7 separate regions of the Homo sapiens genome follow, and regions 1, 2, 3, 5, 6 and 7 are each linked to region 4. The links are contacts of gene promoters, found by promoter capture Hi-C in human tissues and cell types (Jung and others, 2019). All regions are on one chromosome and are shown on one strand. Each heading gives the region's core, a stretch centred on a gene start or on the middle of the fragment in contact. The rest is flanking DNA. Distances are from core to core; before and after follow the strand shown. Region 1 has its middle 47 kb from the start of DYNC1I2. Region 2 overlaps DYNC1I2 (dynein cytoplasmic 1 intermediate chain 2). Region 3 overlaps SLC25A12 (solute carrier family 25 member 12). Region 4 holds the start of DLX1 (distal-less homeobox 1). Region 5 has its middle 78 kb from the start of CYBRD1. Region 6 overlaps PDK1-AS1 (PDK1 and ITGA6 antisense RNA 1). Region 7 has its middle 13 kb from the start of DYNC1I2.

The links. Contacts are between HindIII fragments. The study calls those that stand out against the background at their distance.
Region 1: a contact is called between a fragment that was not itself captured here and the fragment with the promoter of DLX1 in region 4, in 2 of the 25 tissues and cell types used here (H1 embryonic stem cells and mesenchymal stem cells).
Region 2: a contact is called between a fragment that was not itself captured here and the fragment with the promoter of DLX1 in region 4, in 2 of the 25 tissues and cell types used here (dorsolateral prefrontal cortex and lymphoblastoid cells).
Region 3: a fragment that was not itself captured here is called in contact with the fragment with the promoter of DLX1 in region 4 in 3 of the 25 tissues and cell types used here (H1 embryonic stem cells, dorsolateral prefrontal cortex and mesendoderm cells).
Region 5: a fragment that was not itself captured here is called in contact with the fragment with the promoter of DLX1 in region 4 in 2 of the 25 tissues and cell types used here (lymphoblastoid cells and mesendoderm cells).
Region 6: a fragment that was not itself captured here is called in contact with the fragment with the promoter of DLX1 in region 4 in 1 of the 25 tissues and cell types used here (spleen).
Region 7: a contact is called between a fragment that was not itself captured here and the fragment with the promoter of DLX1 in region 4, in 1 of the 25 tissues and cell types used here (spleen).

The regions. Positions count from the first base shown.
Region 1 is chr2:171,638,569-171,641,378 of GRCh38, forward strand. No RefSeq gene overlaps it. Among named protein-coding and RNA genes, the nearest start is that of DYNC1I2, 47 kb to the right of the region's middle. The HindIII fragment of the contact is 4,270 bases long and covers 1-2,810 here.
Region 2 is chr2:171,692,872-171,695,836 of GRCh38, forward strand. DYNC1I2 (dynein cytoplasmic 1 intermediate chain 2) reads left to right here. Exons shown (of 18, transcript NM_001378.3): 3 at 1-23. Among named protein-coding and RNA genes, the nearest start is that of DYNC1I2, 6.9 kb to the left of the region's middle. The HindIII fragment of the contact is 3,597 bases long and covers 1-2,965 here.
Region 3 is chr2:171,788,393-171,791,370 of GRCh38, forward strand. All of the region lies in intron 15 of SLC25A12 (solute carrier family 25 member 12), which reads right to left. Among named protein-coding and RNA genes, the nearest start is that of DYNC1I2, 100 kb to the left of the region's middle. The HindIII fragment of the contact is 3,928 bases long and covers 1-2,978 here.
Region 4 is chr2:172,084,077-172,086,776 of GRCh38, forward strand. It overlaps DLX1 (distal-less homeobox 1), which reads left to right and starts at 1,431. Exons shown (of 3, transcript NM_178120.5): 1 at 1,431-1,914; 2 at 2,578-2,700. The coding sequence starts at 1,602. RefSeq lists enhancers at 1-464, 465-1,076, 1,077-1,690, 1,540-1,659, 1,691-2,302 and a silencer at 1,150-1,259. The HindIII fragment of the contact is 6,806 bases long and covers 1-2,700 here.
Region 5 is chr2:171,599,530-171,602,298 of GRCh38, forward strand. No RefSeq gene overlaps it. Among named protein-coding and RNA genes, the nearest start is that of CYBRD1, 78 kb to the left of the region's middle. The HindIII fragment of the contact is 3,544 bases long and covers 1-2,769 here.
Region 6 is chr2:172,542,837-172,545,562 of GRCh38, forward strand. All of the region lies in intron 1 of PDK1-AS1 (PDK1 and ITGA6 antisense RNA 1), which reads right to left. Among named protein-coding and RNA genes, the nearest start is that of PDK1, 12 kb to the right of the region's middle. The HindIII fragment of the contact is 3,343 bases long and covers 1-2,726 here.
Region 7 is chr2:171,673,232-171,675,931 of GRCh38, forward strand. No RefSeq gene overlaps it. Among named protein-coding and RNA genes, the nearest start is that of DYNC1I2, 13 kb to the right of the region's middle. The HindIII fragment of the contact is 8,060 bases long and covers 1-2,700 here.

The sequences.
Region 1 (2,810 bases), core at 56-2,555, 450 kb before region 4:
CAATGAGAAGCCTCCCATCTCACCCAAAATGGCAGCTCAGTGAGGTGTCTGAATTGGTGATGGAAAAGCTGCTGAGACTGGACGCATAAAGCAGTGCCCTGGCCCAGTGGTCCCTAACTCTTTATGGTTCTGTTTGTGGGATTGTGTCTGTTGGTAGTGGCCTTTTGAACCAGGATCTGTAGGGTCTTCATGTTATTCTCTAGAATAGAATCTAGATTCTACAATCTAGAGTCTAGATTGTAGATTTTAGTGTTTGAGAGCCTCCAAGCTGCCCAGCTACCAAGTTTGAATTGTGCCCTCTCTCAAGGCTGATGTAGGGGTCCCCTTGTGTTCAACCCAGCTATTATCCAGTCAGATCAGACCACACTGCAGCATGCCACAGTGTGCCATGAGAAGTGAATGTTGGCTGCCATGTCATCGATCCTTACCGCATAACTCCAGAGATTATACACCAACTATTCAAAAGCAGTCCAGGCTTTTCTTTTTTTCTTTTTTTAAATTTATTTTTAATTTTTGTGGGTACATAGTATGTGTATATATTTATGGGGCACATGAGACATTTTGAAACAGACATACAATGTGTAATAATTACATCAGGGTGAATGGGATATCTATCACCTCAAGCTTTCATCCTTTGTGTTACAATCAAATAACTTTCAGTTATTTTAAAATGCACAATAAATTATTGTTGGCTATAGTCACCCTGTTGTGATATCAAATACTAGATTTTTTTTTTTTTGAGGTGGAGTCTCACTCTGTTGCCCAGGCTGGAGTGCAGTGGTGCAATCTCAGCTCACTGCAACCTCCGCCTCCCAGGTTCAAGCCATTCTCTTGCCTCAGCCTCCCGAGTGGCTGGGATTACAGGCACAAGCCACCCTGCCCGGCTCAAATACTAGATCTTATTCATTCTGCTTAACTATATTTTTGTCCCCATTAACCATCCCCATTCCACCTAACCCACCCCACTTACATTACTCTCCCCAGCCTCTGGTAACCATCCTTCTACTCTCTATCTCCTTGAGTTCAATTGTTTTAATTTTAAGCTCCCACAAATAAGTGGGAACATGTGAAGTTTGTCTTTTCGTGCCTGGCTTATTTTCTTTAACATAATGACCTCCAATTCAAGCTATGTTGTTGCAAATGATAGAATCTCATTCATTTTATGGCGGAATAGTACTCCATTGTGTATATGTAGCACATTTTCTTTATCCATTCCTCTGTTGATGGACACTTATCATGCTTCCAAATCTTAGCTATTGAGAATAGTGCTTCAATAAAAATGGGCATACAGATATCTCTTTGATATATTGATTTCCTTTCTTTTGGGTATATACCTAGAAGTGAGATTGCTGGATCATATGGTAGTTCTATTTTTAGTTTTTTGAGGAACCTCCAAACTGTTCTCCGTAGTGCTTGTACTAATCAACATCCCCACCAATAGTGGAGGAGGGTTCCCTTTACTCCGCATCCTCACCAGTATTCATTATTGCCTGTCGAAAAAGCCACTTTTTAAACTGAGGTGAGATTATATATCATTATAGTTTTGGTTTGCATTTCTCTGATGACCAATGATGTTGAGCACCTTTTCATATGCCTCTTTGCCATTTGTATGTCTTCTTTTGAGAAATGTTATTCACATATTTTAAAATCAGATTCTCAGATTTCTTTCCTATAGAGTTGTTTGAGCTTGTTATATATTCTGGTTATTAACCCCTTGTCAGATGGATAATTTGCAAATATTCTCTCCCATTGTATGGGTTATCTTCTCACATTGTTGATTGTTTCCTTTGCTGTGCAGAAGCTTTTTAACTTTATGTGATTCCATTTCTCCATTTTCACTTTGGTTGCCTATGCTTGTGGGGCATTACTTAAGAAATCTTTGCCCAGACCAATGTCCTGGAGAGTTTCCCCGAAGTTTTCTTTTAGTAGTTTCATAGTTTGAGGTCTTAGACTTAAGTCTTTAATCCATTCTGATTTTTTTTTTTTAGATGAAGTCTGGCTCTGTCGTCCAGGCTGGAGTGCAGTGGCATCATCTCGGCTCATTGCAACCTCCGCCTCCCAGGTTCAAGCGATTCTCCTGCCTCAGCCTCCCACATAGCTGGGATTACAGGCACCTGCCACCATGTCAGGCTAATTTTTTTGTATTTTTAGTAGAGATGGGGCTTCGCCATGTTGGCCAGGCTGGTCTTGAACTCCTGACTTCAAGTGATCCGCCTGCCTCGGCCTCCCAAAGTGCTGGGATTACAGACATGAGCCACCGCACCTGGCCAATCCATTCTGATGTGATTGTTGTATATGTTGAGATAGGGATCTAGTTTCATTCTTCTGCACATAGATATCCAGTTTCCCCAGCACCATTTATTGATGAGACTGTCCTTTCCCCAGTGTATGTTCTTGGCACCTTTGTTGAAAATGAATTACTGTAGATGCATGAATTCCTTTCTTGGTTCTCTATTCTGTTCTCTTGGTCTATGTGTCTGTTTTCATGTTAGTGTATATGTAGCACATTTTCTTTATCCATTCCTCTGTTGATGGACACTTAGGTTGCTTCCAAATCTTGGCTGTTGTAGATAGTGCTGCTGTATTGGTTACTATAGCTCTGTAGTATAATTCAAAGTCAGGTAATGTGATTCCTCCAGTTTTATTCCCTTTGCTCAGAATAGCTTTGGCTATTTGGTTTTTTTGTGGTTCCTTATAAATTTTAGGATTTTTTTTAATTTTTCTTTTTTAATTATACTTTAAGTTTTAGGGTACATGTGCACAATATGCAGGTTTGTTACATATGTATACACACTCCATGTTGGTGTGCT
Region 2 (2,965 bases), core at 399-2,898, 390 kb before region 4:
GCTAACTCCAGAATCCCCCATTGGTAAGGTTAAGAATATATCCATTTATAAGAGATAGGCATAGATTCTGTTCAGCTCAGACATAGCTGAGTGGATTGACTTGATATATTTTACATATTTTCCTTGTGTCTCTAAAATTATTAATCTTTTATTTGGAATTGTCTTTTTTTCAGATATGCTAGTACATGGTTATTTTATTTGTTCAAAAGAGCTGCAAGAGTAATTATTAACATATACTGAACTACCAATTGACTTCTCTTATTAAATCAGTAATTTATTTCAACAAACATTGGTTAAGCAAGTTTTATGTGCCATACTGTGTTAAGCTCAAAGATAACTAGGATTCCTGATCTGAACTCTATATTCCTTTCTGGAGATTAGCGAGAGATACAATCAGACTTATATTGTTAGAATGCAAAATATATTAGTATTCAAAGGTACAGGAGTGGAAGGATAAGCTTATAGCCTTCTGCTGTTAATGCTAATAAGGGAGATAATTTTGTGGCTTATTTTCGAAGTGATTTGACTTAATCTTATTATTTTTCTGGGTTATTCATTTTGATAACTGTACTAGACCAAAAAAGCTGAAATAGTAGAGGTACACAGGACAATCTAGTTACATATCAGGAACAAATGCTTACTTAAAATAGTTCTGTGCTGGGTGCTATTATGTAGTATTTTAGTTTAACATGGCCTTTATCCTTTAGAGACCTAACATTTTAGGGCTAGTTGGTGGGCTAATTTTATCTAGTCCAGGGGACAAATACTGGAGATTGTAAATGCTCTATGCTTGTTGTGAAACTGCAACATAACTGTCCTTAGAGCTGATATTTCTAAAAGGTTTCAAGATGAAAAGGCTGGCTACTCTCATGGTCAGCTTCATTGTTATTTCTTTCAGCTCATTTTCCTTTTCTTGTAGAATTTGAAGACTGAAGTATATTAATTTTATGTATTTATTCAATAAGCTTATGTTGAACATGCAATTTTAAAAGTAAATGAATCAGAACACTTAATTTCTTGTAACTAAACCAAGTTGCTTGTTAGCCTTTGTTTGAGTTACCTTTTTTTTCTGTGCTTTGGCTTTTGTTTTTCTCCTATAGGATTTTTTTTCTTTTATGTTCTTCTTAAGACTTTAGTTTCACTGAACTCACTTGTTCATATTTCTTTCTTCTTTTTTTTTTTTTGAGGCTGAGTCTCACTCACTCTCCCAGGCTGGAGTGCAGTGGCACAATCTCGGCTCACTGCAACCTCCACCTCCTGGGTTCAAGCGATTCTTCTGCCTCAGCTTCCTGAGTAGCTGGGACTACAGGCTTGTGCCACCACGCCAGCTAATTTTTGTACTTTTAGTAGAGACAGGGTTTCACCATATTGGCCAGGCTGGTCTCGAACTCCTGACCTCATGATCCACCCACCCCTAAAGTGTTCATATTTCTTAATTTATGGCTGGGTTAGTTCTTTGTGTTGCTATAAAGAAATACTGAGGCTGGGTAACTTGAAAAGAGGTGGCTGGGTGGGGTGGCTCACGCCTGTAATCCCAGCACTTTGGGAGGCCGAGGTGGGCGGATCACCTGAGGTCGGGAGTTCAAGACTAGCCTGACCAACACGGAGAAACCCCGTCTCTACTAAAAATACAAAATTAGGTGGGCGTGGTGGCGCATGCCTGTAATCCCAGCTACTCAGGAGGCTGAGGCAGGAGAATTGCTTGAACCTGGGAGGCAGAGGTTGTGGTGAGCTGAGATCTGGCTATTGCACTCCAGTGTGGGCAACAGGAGTGAAACTCCGTCTCAAAAAAAAAGAAAAGAGGTTTAATTGGCTCATGGCTCTGCAAGCTTTACAGGAAGTATGTTGCTGGCTTCTTGTGGCAAGGCCTCAGGAAGCTTCTAATCATGGCAGAAGGCAAAGGGGCGTCAGCATGTCTCATGCAGTGAGCAAGAGCAAGAGGTGGGGGGAGGTGCCACACAGTTTTAAACAAAACCGTGAGGGATCCGCCTCCATGACCCAAACATCTCCCACTAGGCCCCACTTCCAACACTGGGGATTACATCTCAACAAGAGATTTGGAGGGGATGTCCAAACTGTATCAATGGCCCATCTCCATCATTAATTCTTGAAAGACCATTCTTTAGGGTTTGTGTATGTGTCCCTCATTTCTCATCTCTAATTCCATTCTCATTCCCACTAATGCATTAAGTGACCACTTTTGCAGTTTTTGTTTGTTTATTTGTTTGGTTTTTGGTTTTTTTTTTGAGACGGAGTCTTGCCCTGTCGCCCAGGCTGTAGTGCAATCACGTGATCTCAGCTCACTGCAACCTCCACCTCCCGAGTTTAAGCGATTCTCCTGCCTCAGCCTCCCAAGTAGCTGGGATTACAGGCACGTGCCACCACACCTGACTAATTTTTTGTATCTTTAGTAGAGACGGGCTTTCACCACGTTGGCCAGGCTGGTCTCGAACTCCTGACCTCATGATCCGCCTTCTTCGGCCTCCCAAAGTGCTTGGATTACAGGTGTTAGCCACCATGCCCGGCCCACTTTTGAATTTTTAACATACATCCTTCAGATTATCCTCTGTTTTTCAAGGTTTCACATATCTCTGTGTATATATACTTTATATATATAAATGGCATAGTGCTGTATGTCTTTTGTTTATTCCATGTTGCTATATACGTATTTAGTCATTTATTTCTAATATATAATATCCTATTATGTACCACATTTTACTTATCCATTCCCCCAGTGCTATGCACTCAGTTTCCTTTTGTCTCTTTGCTTTACTATCATAAGCAACACTGCAAAAAATATGTGTTTTTTCCCTTGAGGACTGTGGAATACTTTCTCTGGGGTGTATCCCCAAGAATTTACTTGCTATGTTATTGTATATAAGACTTAGCTTAATTAGGTTCTGCGTGTCACTCTCCAGAATGGCTACAAAGTTTACCCGCCCGCTACCAGTGCATGAAAAAGTAA
Region 3 (2,978 bases), core at 133-2,632, 300 kb before region 4:
CGTAGTGTGGGAAGTGAATATCAATACTTATAATCACTCGCTTGTTTGAAGGGCTACCTTGAGAGTTGACTGTGACTCCTTTCAGACATGCTTACATGACAAAAGTCATTACAACTGGAGCAAGAGGTGGCCAGGCAGCCAGTTAAGAAACAACAGGGGAGCTGGTCAGGGAAAGGCCCCTGTGCCCGAGCTCCCTGGGGTCATGTTGAGATTGATCAGCAGCAGGACACAAAAGATGGATTTCACAACCACACCTTTTACTTATAAAACAAAACAGAGAGCAAAGGAGCAAAATAATCTTCCCCGGGGGAAGAAATTCAATTTGGCCTGAATATCACTGTATCCTCACTAGGCGGATGGAGTTGGCAGCCTTGTACGAGGTTCTGCTAGGGAATAATGCAAATACTTCCCCTTGGCATGGCCTTGCACCCTATTCAGATGAAACTAGGTAAACTTCCTGCCTTTGGAGGCAGACTTCTGAATGTTCTCAGTTCCTGCTAGCAAAGCTTGACTGGTAAAAATTAGAAAAAATAATCTCATTCTGAAAACTGACATCAAATGTCTATGGGGAAGAAGTCGGTGCTGACAGTTCCATGGAAATATTTACTTGGTTCAACCACTTGCAAACACCTGTCCACAATTAGACTCTTCTTCTCTGGCTGTTTTTCATTGTTGATTGGAAAGCACAAGGAAAAGCCTGGAAGGCAAATGCTGCCCCCATTTAAAAGTAGGAGACTGGGCCAAGTGTGGTGGTTCACGCTTGTAATCCCAGCACTTTGGAAGGCCAAGATGGGAGGATCACCTGAGGTCAGGAGTTTGAGACCTCACATTTACAGCCTGACTCTCTTTTTTTTTTGAGACAGTCTCACTCTGTCGCCCAGGCTGGAGTGCAGTGGCACAATCTCGGCTCACTGCAAGCTCCGCCTCCCAGGTTCATGCCATTCTCCTGCCTCAGCCTCCCCAGTAGCTGGGACTACAGAAGCCCGCCACCACGCCCGGCTAATTTTTTGTATTTTTAGTAGAGACGGGGTTTCACCGTGTTAGCCAGGATGGTCTCGATCTCCTGACCTCGTGATCTGCCCGCCTTGGCCTCCCAAAGTGCTGGGATTACAGGAATGAGCCACCAAGCTCGGCCTCAGCCTGACTCTTGAGTTAGGAAGGAGCTGATTTGGAAAAGGAGGAGAGAACCAGGTGTCCTTGGCTGCACCAACACTCCGAAAAGACAAAGGAAGGAAGGGGTGCATGTTTGCTCTCTATACAACCAGTAATGAACCATTACAGAGCTCAGTGTGGCTCTGACCAGCTGTGCTGGCCAACATGGTGAAACCCTGTCTTTACTAAAAATACAAAAATTGGCCAGGCATGGTGGTACACGCCTGTAGTCCCAACTACTTGGGAGGCTGACACAGGAGAATCGCTTGAACCCGGGAGGCAGAGGTTGCAGTGAGCAGAGATTGTACCACTGCACTCCAGCCTGGGTGACAGAGCAAGATTCTGTCTCACCAAAAAAAAAAAAGTGGGAGACTGGTAAGTACCAGAAAGGGGCTGCTACAAACAGCTCACTGCCAAGACTGAGCAGGTAACTTTACTGGCTTTTAAACACAAAACTGACTAAAATTACCATTGCTAGAGGAGAAAGGACTTGCTGGGCCCCAAATAAGGGCGGTAAGTTCCCTGGGGCCGTTTCTTAATGATCAAAGTCATCCCTGTCTTCACGAGCAAGAACAACGTGGTCCATCGCAACACTCTCAGGCCCAAGGGCTCCTACCACACAACAAGCACAGCACACTCCGGGAGCTGCTCAGGTTGCCCTGATGTTTAGCCAGAGCCTCCAGAGGAGAATGAGCCCAGCAAGGAAGAGCAACACAGTGAACATAAGCCTGGCTGGTCAGAGCCACACTGAGCTCTGTAATGGTTCATTACTGGTTGTATAGAGAGCAAACATGCACCCCTTCCTTCCTTTGTCTTTTCAGAGTGTTGGTGCAGCCAAGGACACCTGGTTCTCTCCTTCTATTCCAAGTCAGCTCCTTCCTAACTCAAGAGTCAGGCTGTACCTATGAGGTCAGAAGGAAGCATCTTAGTACCTCCCTGCTCTTACAAGGCTCCTCTTTCAAATGAAATCTCTTCTGTGCCTAATTTGGTATCTTAGACGACATGAAGGTTTTCATTCATGTTATTGACATTTATTGAGCACCTATTACTATTACACTGGCCACGTAGGAAAGGCAAGGATGAAGAGAATGAAACTCTTGCCCTCAAGAAGCTATTAGCCTAGTACAGAGGATAACAATTATGCAAATAACTATTAATAAAAGACAAATTTTTTTTTTTTTGAGACAAGCTCTCACTCTGTCACCCAGGCTGGAGTACAGTGGTGTCATCTCGGCTCACCGCAGCCTTGACCTCCCAGGCTCAGGTGATCCTCCCACCTCAGCCTCCCGGGTAGCTGGCTGGGACTACAGGCACGCACCACTACACCTGGCTAATGACAAAGTGTTAACGATTAGAAAAAATACAAAAATTGAGTTCAAGGTGGTTTGCTGAGGGGTACTGCTTACTTTGGTCTAATGAGGGCAATGGTAGGAAGAAGAGGGACAGCTTCACGACAAAAGCTCAATTTTCGGCCAAATCATGTAGATTCCAATATACAGAAGAGAGAAAGTAAGAGCATGCTAGATCTGTGCATGAGCATGAGATACAGCTAAGCAACTGATTTGAGGAAAAACTTTCCCACCTTAATGCTTAGCTTGGCTGTACTCAAGGTTTCAGGGGCACAGGAAACTAAGAAACATGTTAATGATGAAAGCCCAATTTAGATGGGCAGATCTAATTTGGCTCTGAGTTGCTAAGCTGCATTAAGCTGTTTATCCACATTATGCAAATGTAATTAACTCTCATCAGAATTACAGCACATCCCACAAAGGAGAAAAAGTGATATTTAAACTAAGTCAGGTACAAACAATAATACTTCCAGAAAT
Region 4 (2,700 bases), core at 181-2,680:
CTTTCACAAGATCATTTCCCCGTTCCCGTCACACCGCTAAATTATGAAAGAAATAATTATCAACACTTTCTAATTACCTAACAAAGTAATTTGGGATTCACCGTGGGGCTGGCGGGATGGGGAACCAACATCCACTTACAGCCAGGGTGGTGTACGCCACACCGCGAGGGACTGGCTGTATTGGTAGTAGTGGCGATGGGGTGGGGGCTCTTGTGCACTTTTTTGTACCTAGCACCCCAGAAGACAGAAGGAGCAGCGGCAGATCTTGCCTCCACTAGCCCTGCCCCCTAGGCCTGGTGGCGCGCGCTTTGGCCACTGGAGGTGAGGAAGATCCTGGGTGGCAACGAGAGACGTCTACACATAGATAAGGGAGCCTACCACAGGCCTGGGTTTGCTGCGGGTTTCGGTGTCCCCCAGGGACTCCTAAACTCTGGAAGTCGCGCTAGACCTCAGGAGGCCGGAAAATGACCACCTGGCGTCGGTGGCTCCAGCAGATCTGAGCCCCTAGGCCCCCTGGGCTCCACGCTGAGCCGCGCTCTCGGGGCGAGTGAGCCCGGGGCTCTCCGCGCATGGGGAGTGGAGAAGGGAGGGGGAGGAGGAGGAAGGCTGGGAGGGAAAGAGGATGTGTGTGTTGGGGGAGGGGGCGGTGCAGCCGCCTTTCCTGGGAGGAGAAGCGCGGGTTCCTGGCTCTCCACGCGCACTGCTTTAATCAGACCCGTGCAGCCTCGAGCTGGAGTGGCCAGCTGGGCCTGGAGCAATGCGAGCGGGCCCCAGGGAGCGACAGCGGCGTTGGCGCAGCGGCCGAGTGAGTGAGTTCGCAGGGAGGGCCCCTAAGCCCCGACTCCAGGGATGCGGCAGAGCGTACCGGGGAGGCGCGGCCGGATAGGCGCTGCGCTAGGCACAAGGCTCTTAGGAGAACCTCTGTCTGTTGGCCGCCTCGGGCGCCCCCAGTGCGCGACTCCGCGCTCCAGAGGCAGAGGTCAGTCTCCTCCTGAGCCGCCCTAGCTCTGCGCCGAACTGAGTGGCAGCGACGAGAAGCGGTCCCGGGTGTCCGGTGTTAGGGACCGCTGAAGGGTGGGGACAGTGGTAGGGGGGCGGCGGCGCGGAGCCGCTGGTTGGTTCCTGGGGAGGAAAGCGCGCGAGGGAGGCGGGAGGCCGATGAGCCGCGGGCCGCAGGGGCCCCGGCGCAGACGCCGCAGCCCATTGTGCTTCCTGCCCGGCGCGCTCTGTTGCAGAGGAGCCCCGGCCGGGAAGTGTGGATGCGTCTTACCCGAGGCCGGGCCGCCTCGCCCGCTCTAGTCCAGCGGAGCCCGAGCGCCTCGGACCAATCCCCAGTGATTATGCAAGACAGCGGACCAATCAGCTCCGCCAGCTCATGAATATTTATGACCTTCGCTGAGTCAAAGCTTTGAACCGAGTTTGGGGAGCTCAGCAGCATCATGCTTAGACTTTTCAAAGAGACAAACTCCATTTTCTTATGAATGGAAAGTGAAAACCCCTGTTCCGCTTAAATTGGGTTCCTTCCTGTCCTGAGAAACATAGAGACCCCCAAAAGGGAAGCAGAGGAGAGAAAGTCCCACACCCAGACCCCGCGAGAAGAGATGACCATGACCACCATGCCAGAAAGTCTCAACAGCCCCGTGTCGGGCAAGGCGGTGTTTATGGAGTTTGGGCCGCCCAACCAGCAAATGTCTCCTTCTCCCATGTCCCACGGGCACTACTCCATGCACTGTTTACACTCGGCGGGCCATTCGCAGCCCGACGGCGCCTACAGCTCAGCCTCGTCCTTCTCCCGACCGCTGGGCTACCCCTACGTCAACTCGGTCAGCAGCCACGCATCCAGCCCCTACATCAGTTCGGTGCAGTCCTACCCGGGCAGCGCCAGCCTCGCCCAGAGCCGCCTGGAGGACCCAGGTACGTGCGCTTGCCAGGGAGAGGGAGAGGAGGAGGTACAAGGGAGAGAGGGAAAGAAGGAGCGGGGGAGAAGAGGAGAGGGAGAGAGAGAGAAAGAGAAGAGAGGAGAGCGAGGTGGGGTGGGGGTGGGGAGGGCGCGGGAGCAGTGGAGGTTTCGAATATCAATCTATAGATCCTTGTCACAGCAAATAAATTTTTTTAAAAATTCCCTCAATTTGCAACTATCCAGCCAAGGATAAATCCCAGAGCGTCTCCTGGCACTGGCTGGGCCTCTGGGCGGCTCGGTGTGCAGAGCACACAATGCCCCGCTGGAAAACAGAAACCCACATGTGCACGTATTAGTCTCGGTAATTATTTATTGCGTAGCGCTATAAACAATGTATGCAATTAAGGGTAATTAAACCTCAACTACCGCCTGCAAAAATAGCAAACTTTCCCTGCAAAGGCAGGAGCTGAGCTCCTGGGAACGGCTCTATCCCTCCTGCAGCGTCCCGGGACAGGCCCTCGGATTTTGGGGGACCCTTCCCTGGCTTTCAGAGTTTCTTGAACGTTCTCTCCCTGGTGCTGCCTCCGCCACCCTTCGGTAGCCACTCGCTCTCGGCTGTTCGCACTAAAGGCGGCCCCTCGTATTAACAACGGGCCCTACTTCTGCTGTCCCTCCAGGGGCGGACTCGGAGAAGAGCACGGTGGTGGAAGGCGGTGAAGTGCGCTTCAATGGCAAGGGAAAAAAGATCCGTAAACCCAGGACGATTTATTCCAGTTTGCAGTTGCAGGCTTTGAACCGGA
Region 5 (2,769 bases), core at 194-2,693, 480 kb before region 4:
GTTGTCTTTCACTTTTTGTCCGTCCCAGCATTTGCACTAAGACCCTTGCTGCCCGTCGCGCCTCCCAGCCGATAACTGAGCAGGGAGGGGATAATAAGGCAGGCTCATTCCTGGAGATGTGGGACTTCTCTTATGGCTGAAGGTTTTTGCCAAACCTTCCTTACACTGCTCAGTGGTCCAGGATGCTTCATCCAACCTTCCCTCCTTTTCTTCTTTGAGATCGGACTTGCATTGCCATCTGACGGCTCTCAGCCTTCTCCTCCTGCCCATGTCTCTCACAGCAGAATTTTTCTTAATAAAATCTTTGCACATTTAATTCCATCTTGGTGTCTGCTTCTCAGAGGACCTGGACTAACACATCAGGCAATGGCAATGCCTACCCTAAAGAACGACTTTTACAGTTCAAGGCCAAAGTCCTTCTGTATTGGATAGCAGCAGCAACCCAAAGCAAGAACAAAGGTAGAGATCTGGACTCTCTAGTTGACCACAGGGTTTCTACCCAGCGAGAAGGATGATGATTTTTTGAGCTGGATAAATCACACCTGGATTTGAATATCAGCTCTGCCACTTAGGAATTTGGTGGCTTTGACAAGTTATTTAGCCTCCCTGTGCCTTAGTTTCTTCATCTGCAAAATGTCAACAATACCAATGCTGTCTCTCTGCATTTTTTAAGATTGAATAAAATAATGTAAAAAGTAACTAGTACAGAGTACAGAGCAGGAGCTCACCAAATGTTGGTTTCCTTTCCACACCCTTCAATCAGGCAGTATCATGCTCAGTTAACTGTTCAAAGGCAAGTCATAACTTGGCTGGATATGGGCTGCACACACTTTGTAGGAGTAAGCTAAGTGGTGAGCATAGAGTTTTCCCTTGCCTTTCCCTGATCTACTCTGGCCAGCTATTGCCCTCTTAGCTTCCTGGGTACTCAAGAGATGAGCTTTCCTGATGGGTTCCATAGAGATACCCAAGAAAAACACTGCTCTGAAGGAAAAAGATAAGGTTAGGCTAGAACCCCTAAAGCACAATGCGGTCCCAAGAGAAACAAGCTCTGTTATGTTTTCTGACAGTGACACAGGTGCCTATGGAGGAGGTGGCCCAGGAAAGGGACGGAGGAAGGAAGAAAAGAAATTCTGGAGAATCTGACAGAGGCAATTCAAGTTTCTGAAAAAGTTCTTTCTAGTGGTTTGTGAGCATGTTAGCAATAAGGCAGCACACATGGATGTCCATGTCCTAAATAAGTAATCTTTCCCCTTTGTTTCCTCTAGCCAAGATTGATGTGGGCTGGGCACGGATTACATGCATGTAATCCCAGCACTTTGGGAGGCCAAGGTAGGTGGATCCCTTGAGCCCAGGAGTTTGAGACCAGCCTTGGCAACTTAGGCTCTTGCAAAACCCCATCTCTACTAAAAAAAAAAAATAGCCGGGCATAGCAGCACGTGCCTGTAATCCCAGCTTCTCAGGAGGCTGAGGTGGGAGGATTGCTTGTGCCTGGGAGGCAGAGGTTGCCGTGAGCCATGATCGCACCATTGCATGCCAGCCTGGGCAACAGAGCCAGACCCTGTTTTGTTTTTTGTTTTTGTTTTTTTTTAATTGATTTAAAGAATGTTAAAGCACGTGATTGAATATGGAAATATCAGGAAAGATGTTTACCAAAATACCTTTGTGGCTGTCTTTGGATGGTGGGATTTCAGGTTTTTGATCTTTATAATTTTCTGTATTTGCTGCCTTCTGTGCTGCCCAAAGCTGCTCTCCCTTCTCCTCACCTCACCTGAATTTTTGTGTTGTTCTGCGATGGCGCCTCTTGGCCTCCAGCTTCCATAACCTTCCCAAGTGCTCTGCCCCAGATATCCCCACTTTTAACCAGCTTTTTTTCTCTTTAAAAATTCTCTGGACAAAGTCTGCTCCTTCTGGCCAGATGTGGTGGCTCACATCTGTAATCCCGGCACTTTGGGAGTCCAAGATGGGAGGATCACTTGAGGCCAGGAGTTCAGGAGCAGCCTGGTCAAGATGGTGAGACCCTATCTCTATTTTAAAAATTAAAAGATACGTCGGCACAGTGGCTCACACCTGTAATCCCAGCACTTTGGGAGGCAGAGGTGGGTGGATCACCTGAGGTCAGGAGTTCAAGACCATCCTGGCCAACATGGTCAAATCCCATCTCTACTAATAATACAAAAATTAGCCAGGCGTGGTGACACGTGCCTGTAATCCCAGTTACTCAGGAGGCTGAAGCAGGAGAATTGCTGGAACCTGGGAGGCGGAGGTTGCAGTGAGCTGAGATCACTCCACTGCACTCCAGCCTGGGCGACTAAGGGAGACTCCATCTCGAAAATAAAAATAAAAGAAAGTCTCCTCCTTCTGTTGTTCTCACACACTTCGCGTTGGCATCTTCCCTTCCACACACATTCTAAACTCCAAAGGGCCTTGATGATGAGGAGGCTCTTTGAAGAAAATCTCTAGTCAGCCCAAGCCTAACCCTATCCCTGCAAAAATCATGTTGTGGTTGGAAGTGTGGATTACTGGTAAATATTGCTGTGTGGAGAAGATTACAAAGTTTTTTTTACCTGTCAGAAAGTAAAAATATAAGCTTAACCCTGTAAGCTTATATTTTAAACTTTAAACTCTATAAACTCCCTGTCAGCTAGAAATGTTCTAGAAAACATTATTTAAAAGCTGGGATACTCCCTAGAGAAAAATTACCTTTACTGCCATGTTAGGCAAAAACATCTGATGAGGCACGGTGTTCTGTGTAAAAACTGAGGTGGTCCC
Region 6 (2,726 bases), core at 154-2,653, 460 kb after region 4:
AAGTACTGCTTTTCTAGGGGGCAGGAACCCCCCGACCCCTTCTCTCTGTCTTTACCCCTTCTCTGCTTTTCTGGGGGTCAAGAACCCCCCACCCCTTCTCTCCGTGTCTCTACTCTCTCTTTTCTCTGGGCTTGCCTCCTTCACTATGGGCAAGCTTCCACCCTCCATTCCCCCTTCTTCTCCCTTAGCCTGTGTTCTTAAAAACCTAAAACCTCTTCAACAAACACCTGACCTAAAACCTAAATGCCTTATTTCCTTCTGCAATGCCACTTGACCCAATACAAACTCAACAGTGGTTCCAAATAGCGAGAAAATAGCACTTTCAATTTTTCCATCCTATGAGATCTAAATAATTCTTGCCGTAAAATAGGCAAACGGTCTGAGGTGCCTGACGTCCAGGCATTCTTTTACACGTCGGTCCCTCCCTAGTTTCTGTTCCCAATGCAACTTGTCCCAAATCTTCCTTCTTTCTCTCCCGCCTGTCCCCTTAGTCCCAACCCCAAGCATCGCTGAGTCTTTCTAATATTCCTTTTCTACAGACCCATCTGACCTCTCCCCTCCTCGCCAGGCTGAGCTAGGTCCCAATTCTTCCTCAGCCTCTGCTCCTCCACCCTATTATCCTTTTTATCACCTCCCCTCCTCACACCAGGTCCGGCTCACAGTTTCGTTCTGAGACTAGCCCTCCCCCACCTGCCCAGCAATTTCCTCTTAAAAAGGTGGCTGGAGCTAAAGGCACAATCAAGGTTAATGCTCCTTTTTCTTTATCCCAAATTAGAGAGCATTTAGGCTCTTTTTCAACAGATATAAGAACCCAGCCCAGTTCATGGCTCATTTAGCAGCAACCCTGAGACGCTTTACAGCCCTAGACCCTAAAAGGTCAAAAGGACGTCTTATTCTCAATATACATTTTATTATCCAATCTGCTCCCGACATTAAATAAAACTCCAAAAATTAAATTCCAGCCCTCAAACCCCACAACAGGACTTAATTAACCTCGCCTTCAAGGTGTACAATAATAGAGTAGAGGCAGCCAAGTAGCAACATATTTCTGAGTTGCAATTCCTTGCCTCCACTGTGAGACAAACCCCAGCCACATCTCCACACACAAAAACTTCCAAATGCCTAAACCACAGTGGCCAGGCATTCCTTCAGGCCCGCCTCCCCCAGAAGCTTGCTACAAGTGCCAGAAATCTGGCCACCAGGCCAAGGAATGCCCACAGCCCAGAATTCCTCCTAAGCTGCGTCCAATCTGTGCAGGACCCCACTGAAAATCGGACAGTTCAACTCACCTGGCAGCCACTCGCAGAGCCCCTGGCTCTCTGACTGACTCCTTCCCAGATCTTCTCGGCTTAGTGGCTGAAGACTGACACTGCCCGATCACCTTGGAAGCCCCCTAGACCATCACAGACGCCGAGTTTCAGGTAACTCTCACAGTGAAAGGAGAAATTTGAACTAAGATGGAAAGGCTCATGGCAGGCCCTCAGAACCTAGATCAGGGATGGACCTTTTCTGCTGTCCAGAGTCTCCTGTTGTTGTTCTTCAGATCACCAGACTGGACCCTTTGGATACTGACAGCAGCTCAGCTTGGGCCCAGCACTATTCACAATGGCAAGGACTTGGAACCAACCCAAATGCCCATCAATTATAGACTAGGTAAAGAAAATGTGGCACATATACATCATGGAATACTATGCAGCCATAATAAAGGATGAGTTCATGTCCTTTGCAGGGACATGGATGAAACTGGAAACCATCATTCTCAGCAAAGTAACACAAGAAGAGAAAACCAAACACCGCATGTTCTCACTCATAAGTGGGATTTGAACAATGAGAATACATGGACACAGGGAGGGGAACATCACACACTGAGGCCTGTTGAGGGGTGGAGGGCTTGGGGAGGGATAGCATTAGGAGAAATACCTAATGCAAATGACGAATTGATGGGTGCAGCAAACCAACATGGGACATGTACACGTATGTAACAAACCTGCATGTTGTGCCTATGTACCCCAGAACTTAAAGTATAATAATAAAAAAAGAATGGATCGTATGATTAAAGAAATAAAGATATATAACATTAAAATTTTGAGCCATCATTTTAGGTAAATAAATGATTTATGATAACCTGGAATTCTATTTCATAATATCAAGTGTTCTAAATCTTTAACATATTTGATAGGCTTCCCAAAATCAAACTTCAACTTCAAAATTCTCTTTCCTGACTCCCAACTTTTAGCTGCTACAGAGGGCCCCTGAAGCACCCAAAAGAGAAATAAACAGGATTATCTGACATGTTTAGTTACACAGCATTGTCAAAATAAAAATTATGTTTAACTTCTTCAGGTTATATTTTAGTATATCATATTAAAATATGTTCCAAAATTGTATTGGATTTCTAAAATTCTAATGTTTGAGTATATGCTATCAATCATAATTAGAGTTACTATGTTAAGTTATTATAAACCACAATAATAACCAAATTTCTTTGTTAATCCTGTTTTTGACTGTAACTACCCTGGACATTTTGTTATTCAGAGACAACTGTTGTCTTGTTTTGATCCTTTTCAAAAGATGGTTTATAATCAGCTATAGGACTTTGACACGTGCTCTTAAATAAAGGTTTCTGATAACTTGGGAGATTGTGACATTGGAATAGAGGAAAACAATATAGGATTCATGAAGAGCTGAATTGCAGAATAAGAGTTAACAAAATGGACTGAACTAAT
Region 7 (2,700 bases), core at 55-2,554, 410 kb before region 4:
TATTTATTTACTTGTTTATTTATTTTTGAGACAGCGTCTCTGTCATCCAGGATGGAGTGCAGTGGCATGATCACAGCTCATGGTAACCTCAACTTCCTGGGCTCAAGCCATCCTCCACCTCAGCCTCCTGAGTAGGTGGGACTGCAGGCATGCACCACCATGCCCAGATAATTTTTTAATATATTTTGGTAGAGATGGAATTTCACCATCCCAGGCTGGTCTGGAACTCCTGAGCTCAAGCAATCCACCCACCTCTGCCTCCCAAAGTGCTAGGATCATAAGTATGAGCCACTGTGCCCAGCCTGAGAATATGGGAATTTTTAAAGAGAAGGCTATATGTTTTTTAAAATGTCATTAAACAACAACCTTATGTAATCAAGCTTTTCTTTGACTGGTCCCTCAATGGTTATAAGTTCCTGTGGTTTGTAGAAAGTAACTAGAGATAAAAAGATAGATGAATCTTCTGTCCAATCTGCCTTGTCTCATTTGCGATTTGAAGTGAAACATCATGCATTTATAATGCAAAACTTTTATTCTTTACCTATCCCCAGATGTGAAAAAAGAAACTGCACCAAAATCTTAGGAAACAGAAGAAAGAAATTAAAAGATGGAGATCAGGAAATGTATGTTAAAGGATCAGGGCAAGGAGGAAAGAAAAGGGTTCTGAAAGACCTCTATTCATTCCATTAGATAAGTTGCTTAAACAAGTCAGGAAGCAAGGGGCTTGAGAGACTCTAAGATTTTTGTCTTATAATGTTTTAAAATTTTTAAGTTAACAGCTGAGTTACATATTTGATCAGTTAATGACAATCATATACAGCGTATATGATTTCAAGTTCTTAAAATGGAAAAGAGGGAATATTGCATAAGGGAATGTTTTGGTTAAGATAATCAGGACTTGAGCAATATCCTCCTGCATTCTCAAGATAATAAAATCTGCCTTCTGGTTTTAGACCCAATGTTTTGTTTATATCCTAGATCATATCTCCAGAGATGTTTGAAGAAAATAAATTGTTGATTTTTAAAAATCACTACACTTTCTGAAGTGAGCTGAGTGAATGGCAATAACTTTTTTTTTTTTGAGACAGGGTCTCACTATATTGCCCAGGCTGGAATGCAGTGATGTGATCCCAGCTCACCACAACCTCTTCCTCCTGGGTTCAAGAGATTCTCCTGCCTCAGCCTCTTGAGTAGCTGGGACTACAGGTGCCCACCACCACGCCCAGGTAATTTTTGTATTTTTAGTAGAGACGGGTTTCACCATGTTGGCCAGGCTGGTCTCGAACTCCTGAACTCTGGTGATCTGCCTGCCTCGGCCTCCCAAAGCACTGGGATTACAGGCTTGAGCCACCACACACAGCGAATAATGCCTTAAAATAGTTTTTAAGAAAAAGAAAATTTTCCTGACCAAATTCTGAACTGAGAAAGCAGTGTAATCTACATTATTTTAAATTAGCACTTCACAATGAGGTAAGCACAAAAAGCAAGGATTTTATTTTGTTTTCCTAAATCCAGCAGATTTTATTCTGTTCAATGAAATACTACAAAAGACACAAAGGAACTAACATTTACAGAGAGCCTTTTGTGTGATTTAGAGTGCCTCCTATGTTGTGGGCATTGTGTGGTGATTTGCAGTAAAAATAACCTTCGATATATTCCTGACAAGTAGATACTAGTATGCTTATTTTTCAGATAAGAAAACTGAAGTTAGAGAGGTGAAACAATTTGTCTGCGATCATATAACGTGTAATTGAAAGGACCAAAAAAATTTTTAATTCCAGATGTATTTTTGCCAAAGCATGTAATCATTCCACCTCCCCACCCTGTTCTCAGAGAGTTAACTGTCTAGTAAGGGATATGACAAATTCTCAAAAACATATAACAAAAGCTGAATGTTATAAATGTCTTTAGGGATACATAAACAGTATCTTGGTCTTCAAAGGAGAGAGATCTCATTGGGTTGGAAATGGAAAGCCCAAGGCTTAGCCTTCTGTGTGGGACATGGTTTGGAATTTCTTGGCACAGCAGAGTGGATACCACCACACCAGAATGGCCCTGGAGTCCTGCTGACCAATGGAGACCCATCTGATCAGGACACATGAGACAGTTGAGTCTGGCTGAGAAAAGAATAGGCCCAGCACATTTCCTACTTCTATTATGGGTACCTGCTAGCTTGGACTCTTGCCTAGCTCGTCCACTTGCACCCATCTTATCCACTTGCCACCTTTTCACTAACCCCAACCACTTTGATTTCTTTCTCAGTTCCTGAAATAATCCAAGCTCTCTCTCCACCTCCACTCCCACTTCAGGGCTTCTGCACGTTCCTGTAATCCCAATGTCCTCCAATACTGCAATGTACTCCAATTCCTCTCCCAGCCCCCATATTCATCAGGATTCTTAGATGGAATCACCAGAAACTGACTCGGGCTGATTTAAGCCTGAAAGAAATGTATTGGAGTGCATTGAGTGGCTCACAGAATTTCCAGGAGGGCCAGAATACCAGGTTTGGAGAACAGGAAGAAACAAAGCAAGCCTGGACAAACAGAGCTTCGGGCAAGATCACACCTGGACCCAGTCTAAGAGGGCCCCGTTGCCTTTGCCTCTGTAGGTAAAGCTGTCATACACAAAGGAAGCTGGAGTCGCTGCTCCAAAAACTGGATGTTGCTACCACAGTCACTACCACTAAAACAATTTCTCTGC